Regions from separate parts of the Homo sapiens genome. Here region 2 is linked to region 1. Evidence: promoter capture Hi-C in human tissues and cell types (Jung and others, 2019). All regions are on one chromosome and are shown on one strand. The core of a region is centred on a gene start or on the middle of the fragment in contact, and the rest is flanking DNA. Distances in the headings are between cores, read along the strand shown.

Region 1 (7,182 bases), core at 4,582-7,081:
CAGGCTGGAGTGCAGTGGTGCGATCTTGGCTCATGGCAACCACCGCCTCCTGGGTTCAAGCGATTCTCCTGCCTCAGCCTCCCGAGTAGCTGGGACTACAGGCGCCCACCACCACACTTGGCTAATTTTTTTTATTTTTAGTAGAGATGGGGTTTCACCGTGTTAGCCAGGATGGTCTCGATCTCCTGACTTTGTGATCCACCTGTCTCGGCCTCTCAAAGTGCTGGGATTACAGGCGTGAGCCATCACGCCCGGCTGCTTTTTCTAATTCTTAAAGCATTCTTTTAAAGGCTAATTTTCTCAAACATAGACATGGAAGAGTAATAATAAAAAAAATACCTTGAGTAGGCCAGGTGTGGTGGCTCATGCCTGTAATTCCGGCACTTTGGGAGGCCAAGGTGGGCGGATCACCTGAGGTCAGGAGTTCGAGACCAGCGTGACCAACATGGAGACACCCCGTCTCTACTAAAAATACAAAATTAGCCAGGGGTGGTGACACATGCCTGTAATCCCAGCTACTCGGGAAGCTGAGGTAGGAGAATCGCTTGAACCCAGGTGGCGGAGGTTGCAGTGAGCTGAGATTGTGCCATTGCACTCCAGCCTGGGCAACAAGAGTGAAGCTCCGTCTCAAAAAAAAAAAAAAAAAAAAACCCAACCCTTGCGTAATTTGATCTTGATAGTCCAGCAGCATAGCTAGAAATTTAGATTCTTCCAAGCAAGTTTATAAGAGCAAAAGCTAGGGGTACAATGCCATACCTTTCTTGGTGTATTTATCCAGGCAAGATGGCTAAAGTGGGAATCCACTGAGACTGCGACAACTTCACAGTTCACGTCGTGAAATTCGTTAGCTTTGTCACTAAAAGCAACAATTTCTGTAGGACACACAAAGGTGCTGGAAAAAAAGGATAGAAATTCTCATTAGAGCATTTAAAAACAAGGATTTTAACAATTAGTGGTCTAACAACTAGTTCAACTTGCTAAGGGTAAAAAAGGCAAAATGGTTTACCATCCTCACTGGACTATAGTGTTGTGCTGGCAAAAGTACTACTACCTCCCCTCACCTTTTTATTTTTAGGAATTGTATCAAAAAATGGGGAAAGGGAACACATATTTTAAGAAAAAAAAATTACAGTTCAATAAAGTTGCTTTTTGAAAAAAATCATTTTATTATGCCTACTTTTCTCATTTTTCCCCAGACCAGTGAAAACTTTTTCATAGACTGGCTTAGGGAAGCAGTGCTCCAGAGCACAGAGGTGTACTATAAAGAAAGCTGTCCTACCCCACCCCCGAAGTTTATCACTTGTAAACAAGCTACAGATCCCAGCTGTAATCAACAAGGCCATCAGTGATAAAGGGTCAGAAAGAATCCTTCCTTTCACAAGGGTATCTAGGGATAGACAATTCAGTGTGGGAACAGGATATGTGCTTGCTCTCAGAATGACACGAAAGCATCATAGAAATTACACTTACAAATCCAAAGGATAGAAGAAAAGCACCAAATATTTCCCCTTAAAGTCATCAAGGCTTAGGTCTTTGAACTCTCCATTGACAACGGCTGTACCCTTAAAATAGGGTGCATGCTGGGTGACAGCAGGTGCATGGCATGAGGAACCTGAAAAAAAACCCACACTCATATGGAGTTCATCATTTGCTATGTCAAGCACCTATGATTTTATTTAAACTTCTCATAATTAATTAGTAGTATAAAGTGCTTAGTATAAATCAAAACATTCGGTTCAACTGTACATCTTAGGCACAGTCATCCTTTGCCACCTGTGGGGGGATTGGTTCTAGGATATCGAAATCTACAGATGCTCAAGTCTCTTACATAAAGTGGTGATTTGCATATAATCCACACACACCCTCCAGTATACTTAAATCATCTCTAGATTACTCATAATACCTAATACGACGTAAATGCTACGTAAATAGTCGTTAAGCTGTATTGTTTAGGGAATGACAAGAAAAAAAGACTTTGTGTTCAGTATAGACACAACCATCCATTTTTCCCTCCCAATATTTTCGATTCAACCAACCACAGATGCAGAATCCAGATACAGAGGGCCAACTGTAATTTCTCCTTCTATAGTTTTAGATTGTGCACAAATTCAATTCCAACTGCTACAGAAACTAAAAAGAGGAAGACAAAGTAGGGATAGAATTAAGGAAGACATGAGACTAGAGATGGATTTTAAATATGGTTCAGATTTTGTCAAGTCTAGATGGGATGGGGCAGATGGCATGTAGGAAACAGCAGGAAGGAAGACAGGACATGTGTGTGGAGCAGCGTGTGGCAGTCTAATGAGAACAGAGAGTGTCTAAGGGTACGGAGTGAAGAGCAGGCAGCAGGCAGGAATGGTTGAAGGCCATGTTGCAACAGTCCTTAAATACTAGGCTGCTGGGTCTTCTTAGCAGGAAAGATAACAGAGTCAAGGGCGGAGTCTCGCTCTGTTCGCCCAGGCTGGAGTGCAGTGGCACAATCTCAGCTCACTGCAAGCTCTGCCTCCTGGGTTCACGCCATTCTCCGGCCTCAGCCTCCCGAGTAGCTGGGACCACAGGCGCCCGCCACCCCGCCCGGCTAATTTTTTGTATTTTTAGTAGAGATGGGGTTTCACCGTGTTAGCCAGGATGGTCTCCATCTCCTGACCTCGTGATCTGCCAGCCTCGGCCTCCCAAAGTGCTGGGATTACAGGCGTGAGCCACAGTGCCTGGCTGAGATGGGGGTTTTTAGGAAGATTAGTCCGGCAGGAGGGAAAGAGGAGCAGGAGGAAGGGGGAGACATGTTAGGAGGTGGTTTCAGTGATTTTTTTTTTTTTGAGACAGAGTTTCGCTCTGTCACCTAGGCTGGAGTGTAGTGGCATGGTCTCGGCTCACTGCAACCTCCGCCTCCCAGGTTCAAGCAATTCTCCTGCCTCAGCCTCCCAAGTAGCTGGGATTCCAGTAGCACACCACCACACCCGGCTTATTTTTTTTAAGTATTTTTAGTAGAGACGGGATTTCACCAGGTTGGCCAGGATGGTCTTGAACTCCTGACCTCAAGTAATTCGCCTGCCTTGGCCTCTCAAAGTGCTGGGATTACAGGTGTGAGCCACTGTGCCCAGCCTCGATTTCAGTGATCTTAGACGTATTGAGGGGAGGTATGGGGCAGAAAGAACAGAAAGGAATGGATGCAAGAGATGTGTCAAAACTGAAAAGGACTTGCTTCTACCCAGGAATGAGCGACAGAGTAGTTCCAATGTCAAAATGCCTGACACCGCCATGAACAGAAACAGGAGGCGCTGCTGGGGATGAGGATTCGAAACCAGTGGAGTAAAGTTTTAAGCCTGTGGTATCACATCACTACTAGAAATATTTTGAAGCTCCAGGGTAGTAAAATTGCGAAAGCTCTTAGAACATTTTGCCCACAAACAAAGGCTTTACTAAAGTATATCCCCACAAACCATTACATATTAAATACGGGCTTTTTCAAAGGCTAGTCAAATCTAGACAAGGTATTTTCAAATACCACTCATTATCTGAGGCTGATCTTAGCAAAGCCCATATCCTAGAGAAGGGAGTGTAAATCTCAAGAAACAGCTAAATTTCGCTCAGATTACAGATACCATTAGACAGGTCTGGTTCCTAAGTGGCCAGCTGGGGCCATTACACAGGTTTGAATCTTAGAGCAGCTGCCCTCTCAGGTCCCCCACAGGCTGCCCACCACTCACAGCTCTTCAGACACACTAGACTCAGAAGGCATCTGAGCTCCCAGTAACACCCTCCTCAACACAGTGGATTAGAAACTCTGACAACCAACATGGAAATGTGACAAGGGCAGTTTGCCTCAGTGATTCTCAACCCTGGCTGCACGTTAGAATCACCCGGCACATCCTGGTCTCACCCCACAGACTAACTTGTCTGGGGTGGGACGGGGGCAGTGCTGTGTTCCTGAAAGCTCCCAGGTGACTCTAACGTTTGGCCAGGGTTCAGAGCCCCTGTCCAGAGACGATGGTTCATTTTTCCTTTACCTGGCTCCAGCCAAGACATGACATAACACTTACTGGTGCTGAATAATTTTGCTTGACTGGAACCAGAACACAATAAATTTGTCAAGCTCGTTCTTCCACATGCAGCAGGCCTGAGGGCTGCAGTGGCAGAAATGCCCCAAGGAATGGCACTCACATGTCGGGCAACCTGGAAAGAGAAACTTTTTATTAGAAAGTTTTCCTGGACTGGTGACTGAAGGCTGAAAGGGCATCGTGCCAACGGTGGTTTCAGCTGTCCCTGTTCCTGTGAACCAAATAGCAAACCCCAAACTCTAAGAGCATGGATTGGATCTGCATGTTCTTAACACTCCCTTCTGCTTCCTTCTCCTAGGAGACTGGAAGGTGGAGAGGAACTATAAGAACACAAAGACCGGCTGGGCGCGGTTGCTCACACCTGTAATCCCAGCACTTTGGGAGGCCAAGACGGGTTGATCACCAGGTCAGGAGTTCGAGACCAGCCTGGCCAAGATGGTGAAACTCCATCTCTACTAAAAACACAAAACTTAGCCAGGCGGCGGTGGCGGGCACCTGTAATTCCAGCTGCTTGGGAGGCTGAGGCAGGAGAATTGCTTGAACCCGGGAGGCAGAGGTTGCAGAGCCGAGATCGCGCCATTGCACTCTAACCTGGGCGACAACTCCGTCTCAAAAAAAAAAAAAAAAAAAATCAGAAACTCCATGCGCTTAAAGCAACACAGGGTTCAGAAGCCAGGGGACTTGTGCAGGCTTTTCCCAGCACTATCTGCTGAGTATGTTCTACCATTTCAAGGTTTTCCTTAGAAAAACAAGGCCCCTCCAGCACCAGCGACAAGTAAACAAGAAGAGCCAAATTCAGCCTCTGGGAGTCTGTTAAAGGCTCAAGGGACATGTTTACTCAACTTTTTTTTTTTTTTTTTGAAACAGAGTCTCGCTCTTTTACCCAGGCTAGAGTGCAGTGGCGCGATCTCGGCTCGCTGCAGTCTCGACCTCCTGGGCTCAAGTGATCCTCCCACCTTAGCCTCCCCAGGAGCACTGACCACCATGCCCGGCTATTTTTTTTTTTAGAGACAAGGTCTCACTATTATTGTCCAGGCTGGTCTCAAACTCCTGGGCTCAAGTGATCTGCCCGCCTCGGCCTCCCAAAGTGCTAGGATTACAGGCGTGAGCCACCGCACTCTGCCGGTTTGCTCAACTTTAATGTTCAAAATGACTCAGGAGAACGAAAGGGGCTGTGTTGAACCCCACCAGAGAAAGCCGTGTACCAAAAGAGCACGACGCATTGCCCACAGTTAAGCAGGAAACAGCAGCAGAAACACGCGGGAGTGGGATTGGGAGGGAAAGCCTTTGTGAGTTTTTTAGCACTTTGCGCGTTTTTATCCAGTATTTAAGGGGCTGTTCACAGCAACGCCTTGATGTAGGCATCATTCTTTCCATCTTAAGTACACAGTCTGAGAAAGGCGAAGGCGCTTGCCCAAGATCACAGGGTCGGTGGCAGAATCAGGGCCAGGACCTTAAGTGGAGATGGGCCTGGGGACCGGGGACGCCGAAAGAGGAGGGACTCGGGGAAGAGACCGCGAGGATGGAGTGGGGAAGGGCGGTTCTGCGCAGGCGCATGGAACCTTCCCGGAGGGAGGCCTCTGGGTCCGTTACCCGCGGAAACCCTCCAAGAAGGGCGAATGGCCCTCATGCCCAGAAGCGCGGGGTCCTGTCTGAGAAGCACGTTCCCGGAGCCACCAGTGTCTCCACGCCTGTCCCCAGCCGACAGCCACTCACCGACGCTCGGAGCAACCGTCCTACAGCAGCCGCCATCTTCAGTGCACTCGGGCGCCACGGGGCGGGCAGAGACGCAGGGGCGGGGCCTACGGGGTGGTGAGCGGGCCCTCTGCTGGTGGGGGGGCGGGGCCGGAGGAGCCACCGCCTCCCCGCCTCCTGGAGACCCTGAGGGAGAAATTCCCTTTAAGGCTGAATGCTTGGGCAAGTGACACGTGGTTTTCCTACTGTCGCCCCAACCTTAAAAGAACGAATCCAGGCGGGGCATTAGGTATTTGTTTCCATATTTCCCACTGTTTTGTTAACCTTGTGTGGATTACTGTGTCTAGTATTTCTGTGACAGGATCCCTTTCTTATTTCAGCCTCAGGTAGAGACTTCCGGCTTCTGTATGAAATGGAATTAATTACAAATGCAGTTTTAGTCCGTTAATAAGCTAAGTGGGCTAGACACATCAAGGCTTTGTTGGCCTGAAATCCGCTGGAATTGTGTGTGGTCTAACATTTGGCCTCTCTTCCCAAAATTGGGAAAACTGGGACAAATTTAAAATTTGGTTTTTGTCTATTAATGAAGCCAAGTGTTCAGTGGTGAGCATAGTACTTGAAGCAACCACATCAAACATAGATAAAAATCACACCGTGGCCTTACAGTAAGTGTGACAAATTGCAGTCTTGGAGCTGGTATTTTCTTTTCTCTTTTCTTTTCTTTTCTTTTTTTTTTTTTTTGAGACTGGGTCTTGCTCTGTCGCCCAGGCTGGAGTGCAGTGGCATGATCTTGGCTCACTGCAACCTCTGCCTCCCGGGTTCAAGCGATTCTCCTGCCTGAGCTTCATGAGTAATTGGGATTCCTGAGCAGCTGGGATTACAGCCGCCTGCCACCATGCCCAGTTAAGTTTTTGTATTTTAAGTAGAGATGGGGTTTCACCATGTTGGCCAGGCTGGTCTCAAACTCCTGACCTCAAGTGATCCGCCCACCTCGGCCTCCCAAAGTGCTGGGATGATAGGCATGAGCCACTGCACCCGGTCTGAGTTGGTATTTTCCAATCACTAGTCATTCAATTAGCAACTTCGTTTCTCAAGTCTTCTTATCACCAAATATCACTTACTATTTTCTTTAAATTGGCTTTCTTTTTTTTTTTTCCTTTTCTTTTTTGAGACAGAGTCTCACTCTGTCGTCCAGGCTAGAGTGCAGTGGCACAATCTCGGCTCACTGCAACCTCTACCTCCTTGGTTCGAGCGATTCTTCTGGCTCAGCCTCTCGAGTAGCTGGGATTACAGGCGTGCACCACTAAACCCGGCTAATTTTTTTAGTATTTTTAGTAGAGATGGGGTTTCACCATATTGGCTAGGCTGGTCTTGAACTCCTGACATCAGGTGATCCTCCCACCTTGGCCTCCCAAAGTGCTGGGATTAC
Region 2 (7,020 bases), core at 4,295-6,794, 100 kb after region 1:
AAATGATTCTCCTGCCTCAGCCTCCCAAGTAGCTGGGACTACAGGCACATGCCACCACACCTGGCTAATTTTTGTATTTTTAGTAGAGACAGGGTTTCACCATGTTGGCCAGGCTGATCTCAAACTCTGGACTTCAGTGCTCGGATTATAGGCGTCAACTACCGCGCCTGGCCTATGTATTCTTTTAAACTTCAGCTCATTAGAGCTGGGTTTGTGTCATAAGTGAGAGAGCCCTGAGGTGCTTGGTTTGAAGCAAAGCTTGGTTAGCCATCAGCATCTGATTGGAGACTGGTCCCAACCCACCCATGCCGCTGAGGAGGGGACATGGGTGCTGGCCAGCACCGAGATTAGAACACTGACCCGGTGACATGGGAGACTGTGGTTTCCCTCATGGTACAGAAACATAAACCATACTTGTTTTTGAGATGTCTGACCCTGACAAGACTGGGAAATAGAGCTAGCGACTGATAAGTGTTCAGGGGTGGGGCTGCATGTGGGCATTGTAGGAAAAGCGCACTGGCGAGAGGCGTACAGAGGGATCCCAGGCGTTAGCTTCCATTCCCAGCTTCTGTAGGGCACTTACCTGTGCTTCCTTCAGAAGGTGACCAACCAGTGAACTCTGCATGTTACCTTGGCCTTGTATAGGGTGGCTGGGTCGTCAGAAACCTGGGAGGCTCTGGACAGTTGACTTTACTTGGCTGTTCTTTGGTGTTTGTTCCATTCAGTGATGCTGCTGTGCCTCTTGAGGTGCAGGTGCAGGCTGGGTATTTCTCCCTCTAGACTGTTGCCCACAGCTGGAGGCAAAGGGAGTCCATTCATTTTTGCCTGTTGAATGAAGTTAGAGTTTTCGGTTTCTCTGTCCCCTTAGCTGAGGGGCTTTCACATCCTTTAAGAGAGCTGGCGCCCTCTGGGTGGAACACTGATCGGGAAGTCAGCACCCAGGGGTTCCAGCCTTGGTTCCACCTCTCACTGGGTGGCCTGGGGCACTTGTGGCCTGTAAGTACCTATTGTTATGAGAGAGTTGCTGTGCAAACAAAGACCCTTTTAGTTTAAACCTTCTTGGAGACAGCAATTTTGCAAAGCAGTAAGAACCTGGGATTTGAATTATGGTTTAGCCACAAGCTAGCTTCCTAAGCACTCAGCTTCCTCACCTGTAAAATGAGCTCATGATAGACCCAGCCTCTCTGGGTTTGGGGAAGATTGAGAGCATGCAGGCCCAGGAGCATGGTTCCTGGCACATGGGCTCAGCTTCGTAGGTGGTGGCTCCTCTATTACTACCCTCATGAGTGTGATGGTTTTATTACCACCAGAGTGAAGTTCCTGACTGTGAGGTTTCAGACGGGATAAGCGCCTGGAGTAAAGTGTCAGGGCACATGGTTGATCAGTATCTTGGGTTTCTCCTCTCCAAGCAGTGACCTGGACTTGACCTACTAGAAATGGGATCAGGTCTCCAGAGAGAGGAACCACCTTGGCTCTTTGACCTCGGTCAGGCTTGGATACCGGGCCTCCAGGTGAAAGCCTCAGGTGCTGTTATCACTTCCTGAGACAGCCAGTCCTCTCACTTCTGTGTTTCCTTTATTACACTTTACTATGAAGGAGAATTGATACAGAGGAAGAAAAACATACAGTGAACCCTTTATTTCCTATGATAAATGATGATTTTTGGAACTGGGGTCCAGTCTGAATTCTCTAAGGCATGCTTGTGCGTGTGCACGCTCTCTCTCTCTCTCTCTCTCTCTCGCACACACACACACACACACACACACACACACACAGAGTAATGGTTTTAAAGTCATGACATACTGTGCTTTTGGCTGCTGCTGTTTCTGACTGATGACCCCAATGAGACTCCAAAAAATTAGATGGGTGCGTTTGGAAGGCATTCAGAAATTACTCATTGGAAGAAAAATGCAGCGTTTGGAGGAAGGGGAGGGCTGAGCATGTGTAAAAATGAGTGTTATGCGCTTAGTGTTCCGAATTCAACATCAGTGAGGAAAGGGAGGGCCGCAGGAGTTTGGGGACCGTCTCGCTAAGCAATACTGCAAACACAGACAGTGACCCGATTTTCCATAGCTGTGCTAGCTCCTCAGGAGGTTTTGAGAATCCCCCTCATTTGGGTTTGAAGGAGGTCTCAGTGTCCTTCCTCCTCTGTTTGCCAGATTAAAGTTTCATACCTCAGAGCTGGGATACGCTGGGTTTTGATTGTAAAGGCATGCAGCTCAGACTCTGTTGTAAATGGTGAGTTTTTCTTTTTTTTATTACACTTTAAGTTTTAGGGTACATGTGCACAATGTGCAGGTTAGTTACATATGTATACATGTGCCATGCTGGTGTGCTGCACCCATTAACTCGTCATTTAGCATTAGATATATCTCCTAATGCTATCCCTCCCCCCTCCTCCCACCCCACAACAGTCCCCTTCCTGTGTCTATGTGTTCTCATTGTTCAATTCCCACCTATGAATGAGAACACGTGGTGTTTGGTTTTTTGTCCTTGCTATAGTTTACTGAGAATGATGATTTCCAATTTCATCCATGTCCCTACAAAGGACATGAACTCATCATTTTTTATGGCTGCATAGTGTTCCATGGTGTATATGTGCCACATTTTCTTAATCCAGTCTATCATTGTTGGACATTTGGGTTGGTTCCAAGTCTTTGCTATTGTGAATAGTGCCGCAATAAACATACGTGTGCATGTGTCTTTATAGCAGCATGATTTATAGTCTTTTGGGTATATACCCAGTAATGGGATGGCTGGGTCAAATGGTATTTCTAGTTCTAGATCCCTTAGGAATTGCCACACTGACGTTTTAAAAGTGAAATCAGAGAGTGTTTTTGGTTTTCTTGAAGCTGCCTTTGACATTTTAGCAACACAGCTGGGAGGGTAAGGTAGAAAACTCCAAGAAGTTGGAATTCAACTGTCAAAGTCAAAGCGGGGATGGACTTTTGGGAGTCCTGCCACAGCGGGACCTGAACTCAAGTCTTAACTTCTCCTCTAGGGCTCTTGTGTGAAAGAGGAATAGCTTCCTGCAGTTCACAAGGGTCGTACCATGATCAATTATTATTACGTTACACATCACTTCTGTACCAATTTATATTGGCACATGAAGTTAATATATCCCTATATCCATGCATTGCCTTTGTGATTTGGGAAAATCCGATGCCTTGGCCAAACCTCTGAATCATGTGACCACGTTTTAGCCTAATTTGGTGAACAAATCTTTAACCTCCATGTCTTCAAGTGCAGCATCAGTGGGTCATGGATCCAGAAGGTTGGCTGATTGGGATTCTCTTGCTGGGTGCTGCCGCACCTTGTGTGTCGGGTGCCGACACCTTGATCATTTCGGCCAGACCCCCAAGAGAGCCCACAGACCACCATGCTGGGTGGAGGCACCCAACACCTGGCTGACTGCGTGAACTTCTTGCTTCCCAGTGGCTCTCCAAACTAGTTGTGGAGGACGCGAAGGGGTTTCCTGATGTCAAAATAAAAATAACGATGTCTGTAGTTTCCCAGGAGGAATAATTGTTGATGTTGAGGCATGATCTCTGCATGCATTCTGTACCTGCTCCAGGGTGCCAGTGGAGGCTACACCCCTCTCCCCCTCTTCTGCTCTCTGCGACACCCCTGCCACAACAGACCTTGACTCTCCAGGCTGGGACCCAGGAATCCGTACTCTTTCAAAACCACTTTATTGAGTGTAATTGACAGACAGTAAGCCACACATATTTAAAGAATATGATTTGAGAAGTTAGGATATATCCATACCCGTGTGAATCTACATACCACAAACAAGTTATCCATCACTGCTGAAAGTTTACTCATGCCCCTTTATAATCCTGCCCTGTCATCCCTTCCTGTCCCCTGAACCCTAAGCAGCCACTGTTCTTGCTTTCTGTCGCTCTGGATTCGCTTGTATTTTCTGGATTTGCTTGTATTTTCTGGATTTGTCTATAGATGGAATCATATAGCAAGTACCCTTTCTCATGTGCCTTTACTTACTCAGCATGAAGATTTTGAGATTCATCTACACTGTTGGCGTATCAGTAGTTCATTCCTTTTTCTTATTGAGTAGTGACCCACTGTATCGATAGACCACAGTTTGTTTACCCACTCAACTGTTTGCGCAGGTGGGTTGTTTCTAGTCTCTCTATGGACAGAGATTTCCTTTTCTCTTGAGTAAATACTTAGGAACATCTGGATCATATGGTAGGTATAGGTTTAACTTTTCCAGAAATTGACAACCTGTTTTCCAAAGTGGTTATTCTTTGGGACAAGGAATCGTTGTTTTTAGATAAGCTTCCCCAATTCTCCTGTGGCCTCTCCCTTCCCGAGACGGTCTAATGGCCCTGAGCGATGGCTCCTATGTGCCCGTCTCCACCTGTTCTCTCAGGGCTAGCTTGGCCTTGGCACCTCACTGCAGGCCGCCCCTCTGCTTGGGGTGCTGGACAAGCAGAAGGGGAACACTCAAGTTCTTTCTCTCCATAACTGCCTTCGGGAAGCCATGGCAGATGCGTTGACTCTCTGTAGGGCTGGCAAGCTGTGTGGCGAGTCCCTTATCCAATGTCGCTGTGTCCCACAGGGAGGTCTTAAAGAGGCAGCCGACTTTTGTGGCCTCCTTGTGAAAGCTTCGATGCCTCAGGGATCATTTCTGAGCTGACTGCTAGTTGGACTTGGGCCCACTGAAGAGACAGCCTGGGATCGGATGTCCAGAAGAGACAGATCTGAGCACGTCTCTTTCCTCTCCCTCCTCTTTTCTTCTTAGCCCTTCCACCTATCACTCATTCATTGCCCCTTCCTAGGTTCTGTATTCATTTGCTGGGGGCTTTAACAATGAGACGTTATTTTCTCCCAGTCTGGAGGCTGGAAGTTCAAGGCCTAGGTGCCAGCAGGATTGGGGTCCCTGGAGCCCTCCCTCCTTGGCTAGGAGATGGCCGCCCCCTTGCTCTGAGCCCACATGGTCCTTCCTGTATGCACCTGCACCCCGGTGTCTTTCTGTGTCCTGACCTCTTCTTTTTTCTTCAAGACGGAGTCTCGCTCTGTTGCCCAGGCTGGAGTGCAGTGGTGCAGTCTTGGCTCACTGCAACCTCTCACTCCTGGGTTCAAGCAATTCTCCCACCTCTGTCTCCCGAGTAGCTGGGATTACAGGCGTGTGCCACCATGCCAAGCTAATTTTTTGTATTTTTTTTAGTAGAGACGGGGTTTCACCATGTTAGCCAGGATGGTCTCGATCTCCTGACCTCGTGATCCACCCGCCTTGGCCTCCCAAAGTGCTGGGATTACAGGCGTGAGCCACTGCGCCTGGCCCCTGACCTCTTTTATAAAGATATCAGTCACACTGGGCTGGGGCCCAGCCTAATGAATGGCCTCATTTTTGCATGATCTCCTCTTTAAAGGCCTTATCCTCAAATTTCTCCAAATACAGTCATGTTCTGAGGTGCTGGGGGTTAGAACTTCAACACAGGAATTTGGGGGCATACAATTCTGCTTATCACAGGTGCTGAGCCCTGAGTGCAGTGCTTATGATAGAAAGATGAGCTGGATAGTTCTTCCCCTTGTGCAGCTCAGCATCCTGGGGGAGAGAAAGTGGGAAGATCCAGTTTTCTGATGAAAGAAGATGGAAGGAGGAGGGCTCGGTGCTACTAGGGGGGTGGGAGTGGATGGTTAAGACCAACTTGACTCCAGTGACAGCAGCAAGGGCTCCTCATTCCTGTTGATGGTGTGTCCTTCAAAACGTGCCGTGGTTCTCAAGGAGTGAGTGGCGGTGGCCTGCAGCCCTCTGGCACTTTGTGGCCGAGGCCAGCTCCAACGCTGCAGGGCAAGAAGAGCCACGCTGCAGGGCAAGAAGAGCCACGCAGCAGCACTGATGTGCGTGCCAGTAACTGCCTGGTGTTCTAGTGAGTGCTCTCCCTCGAGGAGCCTACTCCATTCTCTAGGGGATCATGTGAAAAGTAGAGCAGCTTTGGGAAAGTGTGAAGTCTCTGTTGTGTCTCTGGAGAAGTTATCGCCTGGTTTGCACATGCTGGAGGGTGGGGTGGTGGTGGAGGAGGAGGGCGCATGATGCCTACAACCTGGCTACACTGGCTCTTTTCATCCTTGAATTCCTGCCTCAGGAACCCTACAAACCCAGTGCCCAGAGTATTGCACTGGGGCCAGAATGGGAAGAGCCCTGAATACAAGAGAACTGTGGTATTGGGGCTATACCTATAAGCATCAGGAAGTCCCCTGCTCTGTGCCCAGGGAGTTGGAGGCCTTAGTACCCTTATCTCTGGAGGCTTCTCCCTGGCCGTGCAGAACAGCTGCAGGAAAGGGGGAAAGCAACTTAACAAAAATTGGTCCAGGGACAAATTATGCTTAGTAATGGATTATCCCAAACATGCTTTGTCTGAGTGTCCTGAGGCCATGGTGACAAAAAGTTAGTGCCGTAACACACACGGAATCAATTCTCTGAGCCTGTGCACTGTCACACTTGTTGCCTCAAGCTCACAAATGGAGTTTTTCTTGTTGGTTTTAATACCTGCAGGAACGTGAATGTCGGCTCTCCAGCCAGCAAGGCCAGCGCCCACCCATCCATCCCTCTGCCATCCTCCATAGGTGGTTCTGATGGCTCTGGTCAGCTGTCATTCGTCCTCCCATCTCTCAGCCTTTGTAGGATAGTTGATACCTGTTTTATTCTTTTATTGTTATTTTAGGGGTCTCAGCATGGAAATATATTGGTGTATAAGTACCTGTTCCAGTCCTTGTTTTCACTTCTCTTGGGACTATACCTAGAATTGGAATTGCTAGATGCTATGGTAATTCCGTGTTTAATTTTTTGAGGCACTGCCAAATTATTTTTCTCCCAGAATGCTTTGGAGGCAATGACTTCCTGTTTCCTTCCTTCCTTCCTTCCCTCCCTCCCTCCTTTTCTTTTTTTTTTTTTTTTGAGACAGAGTCTCACTCTGTCACCCAGGCCAGAGTGCCGTGGCCCAATCCCAGCTCACTGCAACCTCTGCCTCCCGGGTTCAAGCAATTCTCCTT

Evidence for each region. The method cuts DNA at HindIII sites, captures the fragments that hold promoters and counts their contacts. A contact is called where the count stands out against the background at its distance.
Region 2: a contact is called between a fragment that was not itself captured here and the fragment with the promoter of PRDX3 in region 1, in 2 of the 25 tissues and cell types used here (liver and spleen).

Annotation. Positions count from the first base shown.
Region 1 is chr10:119,172,981-119,180,162 of GRCh38, forward strand. It overlaps PRDX3 (peroxiredoxin 3), which reads right to left and starts at 5,832. Exons shown (of 7, transcript NM_006793.5): 1 at 5,775-5,832; 2 at 4,041-4,173; 3 at 1,471-1,612; 4 at 757-892. The coding sequence starts at 5,810. RefSeq lists enhancers at 4,711-5,355, 5,355-5,834 and a silencer at 5,865-5,974. The HindIII fragment of the contact is 15,713 bases long and covers 1-7,182 here.
Region 2 is chr10:119,273,873-119,280,892 of GRCh38, forward strand. All of the region lies in intron 1 of GRK5 (G protein-coupled receptor kinase 5), which reads left to right. Among named protein-coding and RNA genes, the nearest start is that of GRK5-AS1, 62 kb to the right of the region's middle. The HindIII fragment of the contact is 6,532 bases long and covers 2,279-7,020 here.